2 separate regions of the Homo sapiens genome follow, and region 2 is linked to region 1. Evidence: promoter capture Hi-C in 16 types of primary human blood cells and fetal thymus (Javierre and others, 2016). All regions are on one chromosome and are shown on one strand. Each heading gives the region's core, a stretch centred on a gene start or on the middle of the fragment in contact. The rest is flanking DNA. Distances are from core to core; before and after follow the strand shown. Region 1 holds the start of PRELID3B (PRELI domain containing 3B). Region 2 overlaps ZBP1 (Z-DNA binding protein 1).

Region 1 (4,242 bases), core at 554-3,053:
AAAACACAGAAATTTTGAACTTGAGAGCAGAATAATGTTCTCTAAAATAAACAGAACAGGAATGCTGAATGGTGAACAGCCTCATGGAACTCCAGGAATAGCAGGGACAGGCTGTTCTGTGCTGATGGTTCTTGAACCAGTGTTTTTAACACCCAGCGACGTTAACTGCATCTTAGTCAAGGCTGAGGTACTCTCAGTAGCCCTTAAAGCATTACCTCCCCAAGAAATCACTCTTAAGTACTGTAGGTTTAAAAAAAGAAAATCTCAGGTACCACAAATTGCACTTAGCAACTACCCAACCATATTATTTCCTTCCTGTCTAATGTAATTTTTGTTTTCCTGTATAAAGGACTTATGTTATTTTGAAAAATTATCCTCCCTCCTAAATTAACCTGGCTTTTTGTCTTTAACAATCAAACAAGCTAAGAACAAGAATGAGGTGGTCCTTCTAACAAGCTTCTAAGTAACTAGATGTAAAGATTTTCCTCCATAACCTTCATTGAAAATGGCAAATTGTTCTGTTAGGAGGTAGACGGCTGTGGAGAGTGCAGGAGAGCAGGGTGGGAAGCCATATTCTGAAAGCTAAGCCAGGCAGTCTGTTCCCTGGACAAGGCTCATCTCTGAATGAAACCACATGCCACCTCCTCCTGCCCCAGCAATTCTTAGTCATTCTTTCATCCATTGATGCAACAAATAATTGTCATTTAGGAAGGGGGAAATCACTGAACAAGTCTGGCAAGAGCCTCGCCCTCAGGGGCTTACAGTCTAGCGGAAGTTACAACAAATAAACTAGATGACTCCATTAATTCATTCATCCCACAAATAGCTATTGATTTTTTTCATTTTTCAATAAGTAGTCATTGAGCCTTGACTATATGGGAGACACTGAGGATGATTTTTGAGCAAGACCGGCAAGATTCTTGCCTTCAAGAACTCAGTTCGATTGTGAATTTTCACAAATAAATTAACAAGATGATGTCAGAGGGGTAAGTGCTATAAAAAATGCAACAGGATATTGTGACGGAGCAGAGCAACAAGGTGAGAAACGGTGACGAGGGAAGTCTCTCTGGGAGAGACATCTCAGCTCAGATCCATCCTATGCACCTAGGGCAAGGTGTGCCCGGCCAGGAAGCTTTTCTACCCGACCCCTGGCACCGTGCTTCCGGACCGCATCCCTCGTAGGGGTATTATTCATGGGCAGGTCTGATGTTAGCTTCTCCGCGTCACGCCTTATTTATCCCCTCCGAGGGCTGCAAGCTCCTGGCGGGCAGGTGGGACTGGCCCAGCTGATCGGCTGGGTGGCTGGTGGATTTGGGAAAACAGCCCGGGCTGACCCAGGAGGTGGCTGGAACTCTCTATAGGGCACCAGGAAATTTTGCACAAGTGACCACCACAACGAACATCTATGTCAGCAGGCTGACCGCATGCGTCCACACGCCTCGAAATGCCAGGCGAGGATGTGCTGGGCCAGAAGGACAAGGAGGGCCAAGCGGGCGCGCAGGCACCTCCTGGACCTGACCCAACTCTGCCCAGAGGTCAAGGCTCGCTACAAGCCCGCCGCGCCTGCGCAGCACAGCGCCCGCGCCGGCCCCTCCAGCTGCCGTCGGCGGCACTGCGCCGGCGCGATGCGCCCGGCGCTAAGAGGCGGGGTTTCCTTGCGCCGCGCGCAAGGCTGGGGCAAAACCCGGGCCGGGATAGGGCGTGGGGCCGCGCGTCTGGACGTCCCTCGCGTCGGGCCCGACAGCGCCTGCGCACTGCGCCGCCGGCTGGGGTGCTGGGGGCGGGGCAGGGGCAGGTGTAGCCTCTGTGCCTCGTTGTCCCCTGGCGCTACCCGGACATCTCTCAGGGTGCCGGCACCATGAAGATCTGGACTTCGGAGCACGTCTTTGAGTAAGTTTGGGGCGCGGGTCGGCTCCGTGGAGGGCAGGCACGCCGGCCCTGGAGTAGAGGCGAGGCAGAGGCGGCCCGCAGGAGGCTTCTAGGCGTCGGGCCTAGCGAGGGGAGCGAACTCTGAAGCCTGCGGGCCCCGGCGACACGGAGGGCAGACCAAGGTCACGACCCCGAGGCGCCCTAGCCGAGGGGACGGCTCCGACCTCCAGACCCAGGCGGCCTTGCGACCGGCAGGGCTACGGGGTCACTTCCGGGCTGTCCCCCACCATGAGGTAGCCTCGGGCCGGCGGCCTCCTGAGGTCCTGGGGGCGTCGCGGAGCACGAAGCCCTTGACAGCACTCAGGGTTGCCCCATCCCGCCCTGTGAAACCACTTTGGGACGTGGACCCGAGGATCCCAAGAGGGAGGTGTTGGTTTTCTCCAGAGTGTACTTTCCCTGGCCGCCGTTTGGGTGGAGTTTCTACCTTCGAATGTGAATTTCGGGTGAACTCTGACCACCAGGATGTGAAGCCTTTTCACAACTCGTTCATCTACGCAGCAGAGCCTTGGATTTGGAATTCAAGGTCTAGCTCTGGCTGTAACAAGCGTGTGACCCTGGGTTACCCATTTTCATCTGAGAGATGGAAAAGGACGATCGTCAGGGCCTACCCGTGTTAGCTCTTTGAGGCCACGTTCAGGAACATCTTTTTGGATAATGTGAACTGTTTACTAACGAAACTAAGCCTTGAACCAGTTGGATGTGGAGAATTATATTCTCTTCTAGGTCCCTGATTCCATTTACAAAAGAGCCACAAATTTAAGCAGCGAAATCCTTTTTTTTCCCGAGTTACCTGCTCTGTTCCGCTGATCTTAATGTCGTTGCCACACTGTTTTAATTAGTATAGCCTTGTAAATAAATATGCTACAAAGCCATTTATGTTTTTAAAACTGTCTCTGAAGGCAAATTTTTTTTAAATTTCTTTTTTGAGGCAGAGTCTCGCTCTGTTGCCCAGGCTGGAGAGTAGTGGCGTGTTCTTGGCTCACTGCAACCTCCGTCTCCCGTGTTCAAACGATTCTCCTGCCTTGGCCTCCCAAGTAGCTGGGATTACAGGCGCCCACCACCGCGCCCGGCTAATTTTTGTATTTTTAGTAGAGACGGAGTTTCACCATGTTGGTCAGGTTGGTCTCAAAGTGATTCGCCCTGGTCAGGTCGCACCTGACCTCAGGTGATTCGCCCGCCTTGGCCTCCCAAAGTGCCGGGATTACAGGTGTGGGCCACTGTGCCCGGCCTCTGAAGGCAACTTTTAAAACGTTGTCCGCATTTGTACTCAGTGGGACACATCCTAGGGCCTGCTGTATCCTGCAAAGTATAGAATACTGGAATCAGAAGGAAGCTTTCTTTTCCCCCTACTGTTTAGTCTTTTTGGGAGGAAAAAGACCCGAAATTTGTGGTCATTTAGATGTTCATTAACCTGGTCGCATTCATCACTAGTCCATTTCAGCTCCGAGGATGTTTAATTTCAGTCCTCTTCCAGGTTTGCATGCTTCAGTCCTCTTCTGGGTTTGCATGCTTCAGAGGTTCTCGGCACTCAGTCTCCCTAGAACTGTCTTCTCCCATATCTTCCCTAACTCTTCTTCCTGGCTCATCCCCTCCTTCCCTCTACACTCTTTCTGCCTTTGTCTTCAGCGCTTCCCTGTCTTTTCCCATTCAGTGTAAATGTTCAGTGAGATTCTGTGTTGGCCTTCCTATATTGGATTTTACCTGTGATCTTAATTTCTTTTTTGTTTCTCTTTTCGTCACAGACTTTTTTTTTGTCCTGGGAGAAGCAGCCCTGATCCGTGCTTTCTCCCCACATAATCTGAGCTGTTTGGTCAAAGTCCCAAATGATAGGTATACATTTATGGCACCCAGATCTGTACCTTGAGCTCCAGCCTCTCTTGAGCTCCGCTTTTCATTTTCAGGTGCCTGTTAGGCATTGCTACCCTCGTGTCCCACAGGCCCTTAAAACTCAGCCTGTCTGAAATTGAAGTCATCATCTCCCCTGACAAATCTGAGCGTTGTTTCTGATCTTTAGGATGTCACTCTCTAACAATGTCTAAGTCATCATTCTACATCTTATCTGTCTTTGATTTTCCAACACTTTTCTTCTGAGGCCTATAGTTGGCATCCAGGTGAAGTCATTCATTGATTCCTTCAACTTATAGAGATGCCCAGTATGTGTCAGCCACTGTTCTTTGGATTGATTACATTTTCATAAGTAAATCAAGACCTCGATGCTGCGCCAGTGGAGTTAATAATGTCCTCACCTCGTTTCAAAGGTGAAGAAGTTGGACCGGTCAGTGAGCCATAGCCAGGTCCTCCTGATTCTACTTT
Region 2 (4,242 bases), core at 1,227-3,726, 1.4 Mb after region 1:
CTTGTCCTGCATCCACACCTCTGACCCCCATCTCCTCTGGGGTGTGTGGAGCCGAGGCAGTGGCTCCCTAAGGTCAGCCTTCCAGAATCAAAACTGCGGCCAGGCGCAGTGGCTCACGCCTGCAATCCCAGCACTTTGGGAGGCTGAGTTGCGGGGATCACCCAAGGTCAGGAGTTTGACACCAGCCTGGCCAAAAAGGGAAACCCTGTCTCTACTAAAAATACAAAAATCAGCCGGGTGTAGTGGTGCGTGCCTGTAATCTCAGCTACTTGAGAGACTGAGGCAAGAGAATTGCTTGAACCCAGGAGGTGGAGGTTGCAGTGAGCCGAGATCACACCACTGCAGCCGCAGACCAGGCAACAAGAACGAAATTCCATCTCAAAACCAAAAAACAAAAAACTCTGCGAGACAAGGTGAAGCCAGGTGTGAAGTCAGGTGCATGGAGGTGCTGCTGGCTGCCGGTGGGGGAGTTTGGTGGGCGCAGGAGTGGGAATTCCCAGGTCTTCTAATTGGTCTTCACCTGCACACGGCAAGCCGGTCAGCGTTGTAACCATCAGGGTGAGGCACAAACTGATTCTTCCCTCCCCTACAAGTGCTGTGACCAAGGAACCCTGGGCAAACCTGGAGAATCCTCTGAACAGGAAAGAAAGCCCAGATGACAAAGGACTGAGTCACTGTCCTGGAAGGGGAACTCAGGTCTTTCCAAGAAGGGCTCTCCCATGCACTGCCCTCAGGTTCCTTGAAGCAGAAGCTTCCTGGTGACAGGTGGGGCCCCCGCCCACAGTGGCTCTCCCAGGCTGCTGGCTGCCAGGTGCTGCCCGTAACCTGCGTCTGCCCCAGCCTCATCTCTGGGCAGAGCAGCTGGCTTTGATCTTTTAATCATTGTGTGAGCTAATGGTTTTGATTTTTAAGAGCTGCCTCAGGAGGAGCAGGGGCCATTTGGAGAATTCCTCCTTGAACCTCTTGGGGTCCTGCTTAGTCCTCATTAAACTCAGGCCAGGAAACAGCAGCACATTGCCAACTGGCCAAGGAGAAGCTACCCGGGCCCTGCCCAGGGTCTATTGGGTAAACGTCTGTCCCTAGAGACAGACACTCACTCATTCAGTCCTTTTTTTTTTTTTTTCCAGAGATGGGGTCTTGTCCAGGCTGGAGTGCAGTGGTGCATTCATAGCTCACTGCAACTGCTACCTCCTAGATTCAAGCGATCCTCCCACTTTTAGCCTCTTAAGCAGCTGGGACTACAGGCATATGCCATCGTACCTACCTGATTTTTCTCTTTTTTTGTAGAGATGGGGGTCTCACTATGTTGCCCAGGCTGGTCTAGAACTCCTGGCCTCTAGGGGTCCTCCCATCTCAGCCTTCTGATGTGCTAGGATTACAAGTGTGAGCCACCACTCCTGGCCCCATTCATTCATTCATTCATTCACTCAGTCACTCATACATTCAACTGCCATTTCCTGAGCACCTACTGTGTGCCCAGCACTGTGCTAGATGCTGAAGGTACAACAGTGAGCCATGCAAGCACAGCAGGGGACACTAGGGGAAGTTCTGCAGGGGACCCACACACAAGCAGCGTCCCAGCCACTCTGGGACACAGAGACAGGCTTTCCCTAGGAAGTGGCATCTGAGGAGGCCTGGAGGTTGAGTAGACATCATACAGGTTGGGGCGTGAGGGAAGGGTGCTCCTGGCAGCAGGAACAGTGTGCACAAAGGGGCTGGGGAGAGTGGGGCTGAAGGGAGCACAGACAGGCCAGCACTTGGAGGGAAGTTGGGGGCAGGTGCAGGCCAAGCTGGGTGGTTGGCAGAGCCAGATCTGGAGGGTACCTGACTGGAGCTGGCGGGCCAACGGGGAGCCTATCACTGTACCTAGGAGATGGTGAAGAGGAAGGGGGTGGTGCTGGCAGAAAAGAGAGGAGTGGGGGGATTCCAGAGAATCCAGGAATGGCATTTCCAGGGCTCCACGACTGGGCACTGGGGGAAAGGTCTGTTTCTGATGTCTGGTCGGTCTCTGGCTTGGATGGATAGTGGCGCCATGGATGGATGGTGAGCTGAGAGGAGGGCACTCCCGGGGAGGATGGCGATGGGCATCAGGTAAACCCAGGCAGGCGTCCCAGGCAGGACTTGCCTTTGCGCTCCCAGGTCCCCCTGCCTCCCTCTGGCTCCGTCCTTCTGCCCTCTACTCCCCTCTGCCCTGAGGACACCTGAGAGCTGAGGAACCCCACTGCCCTCTGGAACCCACACCCGGGGAGGGCACAGGCGAGGTGGCACCTCCCCTGGCCACCAGGCTGCGCAGCCAAGGCCGTTTCTGATCAGCCTGCATGCCTCCCTCTGGGCAGATGCAGCTGCCCTACTGCTCTTAGGGGGCATCTGCTGGGGTCCTTGCCCTTTCCTCTGCCCTGGACCCCTCTCAAAAAGGGGCCTACGTGCCTCCTGGAGCCTCCAGCCTGGGCTCAACTGTGGGGACCTGGGAGACTCAGTTCCCCTCTCTGTCCCCCGCTCGCTCCCCCAGGCCACCTTGAACAAAGAATCCTGCAGGTGCTGACAGAGGCTGGCTCCCCGGTGAAACTTGCCCAGCTGGTGAAGGAATGCCAAGCACCCAAGAGGGAGCTCAACCAAGTCCTCTACCGAATGAAAAAGGAGTTGAAAGTCTCCCTCACATCCCCTGCCACCTGGTGCTTGGGCGGGACTGATCCTGAAGGCGAGGGTCCTGCAGAGCTGGCCTTGTCCAGCCCTGGTAACTGCCACCCCGGGGAGGCGGGTCTGACCCTGCAGGGAGCATCCTGGCAATGGACAAGCACAGATTTGAGCCTGGGTTCGAATCTGAACTCTGCCACATGGGAGCTCACAGGTTTCCTCTCTCTGTGCCTTGGTTTCTTTTTCTGGTTGATGGAGCTCACAGCAGGGCTGCTTGGTAGGGGTTGCTGAGAGGAGGCCCTGCGTCAGGCTCAGCCCAGCCCTGCACACAGGAGGTACTCTGCAGAACACTAACAATTATAATAGAAAATCATCATGATGGAGACAGCAATGACGCCATGGTCCCAATCACAGAACATATGCAGTCCCACCAGCCCCCCTTTTCTAGCTTTACAGCCCACAGCCAGAAGGAGCTGCCATTTATCATGCACTTAAGATTAGCCAGGCACTGTTTTGGGGTTCACCCAGCCCTCACACAACCCCAGGAGGCAAAGGAGGCTGAGCCCCGGAGAAGTTAATCGGCAGGAAGCCGCAGCTGCCAGGGCGCAGGCAGGATTTGAAGTCAAGTGTGTTGAACTCTGGAGTCTGAGTTTGCAACTACCGGCATTGCCACTTACCCCTAGGGAGCTGCCCACCTTTGTGGGGTGGAGGCCTGGTGCTGTCTTCTGTCCCCCACCCCTCTGACCCATCTTTCTTTCTGCAGCCGAGAGGCCCCAGCAACATGCAGCTACAATTCCAGAGACCCCTGGCCCTCAGTTCAGCCAACAACGGGGTAAGTTTTTGCATGTCCCTTCAGTTCCCGGGACACAGGATCCCACTCCCCAGGAACCCCAGGCCCTCCTTGAGGGTACAAGATCTCACCAGTGTTCAGGGGCCCTGTCCCACCCACCAGGCAGCTCCCATACAGTGTTCAGAGCCAAGACCCAGCCCTCACAGTGGGAGAATCTGAATGGCTGAGCAGTGATTTCTCCAGTCAGACAATAGCTGACCCTCACCATGCACCCGCCACATGCCAGGCCCAGCGCAGAGCACTCTGTGCACATCCCCCACCCTCAGGGCACCTCTGCGGTGCGTCATGATGACCCCGTTATCATGACACCCATTTTACAGATGAGGAAACCAGGCCTTGAGGGGCTGGGTCCAGGGCCACACAGCTAGGAAGCGGTGGGGCAGATGCAAACCCTAGGACTACTCCCTAACCACCTGGCCATCCTGCCTCCCAGAGGAAGACATCTACAGGTTTCTCAAAGACAATGGTCCCCAGAGGGCCCTGGTCATCGCCCAAGCACTGGGAATGAGGACAGCAAAAGATGTGAACCGAGACTTGTACAGGATGAAGAGCAGGCACCTTCTGGACATGGATGAGCAGTCCAAAGCATGGACGATTTACCGCCCAGGTAGGCCCCCGGCTGCCTGTGTCTGGGCTGCAGAGGGAAACCATGACACTAGTGCTTGGTCTTTGCTGGGTGCTCTGCTGAGCAGCTCACCGGAAACTGCTAGAAGCTTCTGGAGGTCCTACCGACAATTCACTGCAAGGGCTTCCAGGAG

Evidence for each region. Contacts are between HindIII fragments. The CHiCAGO score rates a contact against its expected background, and 5 or more counts as called.
Region 2: a fragment that was not itself captured here is called in contact with the fragment with the promoter of PRELID3B in region 1 in 1 of 17 cell types (total CD8 T cells); the score reaches 6.4 in total CD8 T cells.

What each region holds. Positions count from the first base shown.
Region 1 is chr20:59,040,347-59,044,588 of GRCh38, reverse strand. It overlaps PRELID3B (PRELI domain containing 3B), which reads left to right and starts at 1,803. Exons shown (of 6, transcript NM_016045.3): 1 at 1,803-1,890. The coding sequence starts at 1,859. It overlaps SLMO2-ATP5E (SLMO2-ATP5E readthrough), which reads left to right and starts at 1,743. Exons shown (of 6, transcript NR_037930.1): 1 at 1,743-1,890. RefSeq lists a silencer at 1,486-1,885. The HindIII fragment of the contact is 2,130 bases long and covers 1,135-3,264 here.
Region 2 is chr20:57,614,736-57,618,977 of GRCh38, reverse strand. ZBP1 (Z-DNA binding protein 1) reads left to right here. Exons shown (of 8, transcript NM_030776.3): 2 at 2,510-2,734; 3 at 3,398-3,466; 4 at 3,918-4,091. Among named protein-coding and RNA genes, the nearest start is that of ZBP1, 3.6 kb to the left of the region's middle. RefSeq lists an enhancer at 140-999. The HindIII fragment of the contact is 3,446 bases long and covers 754-4,199 here.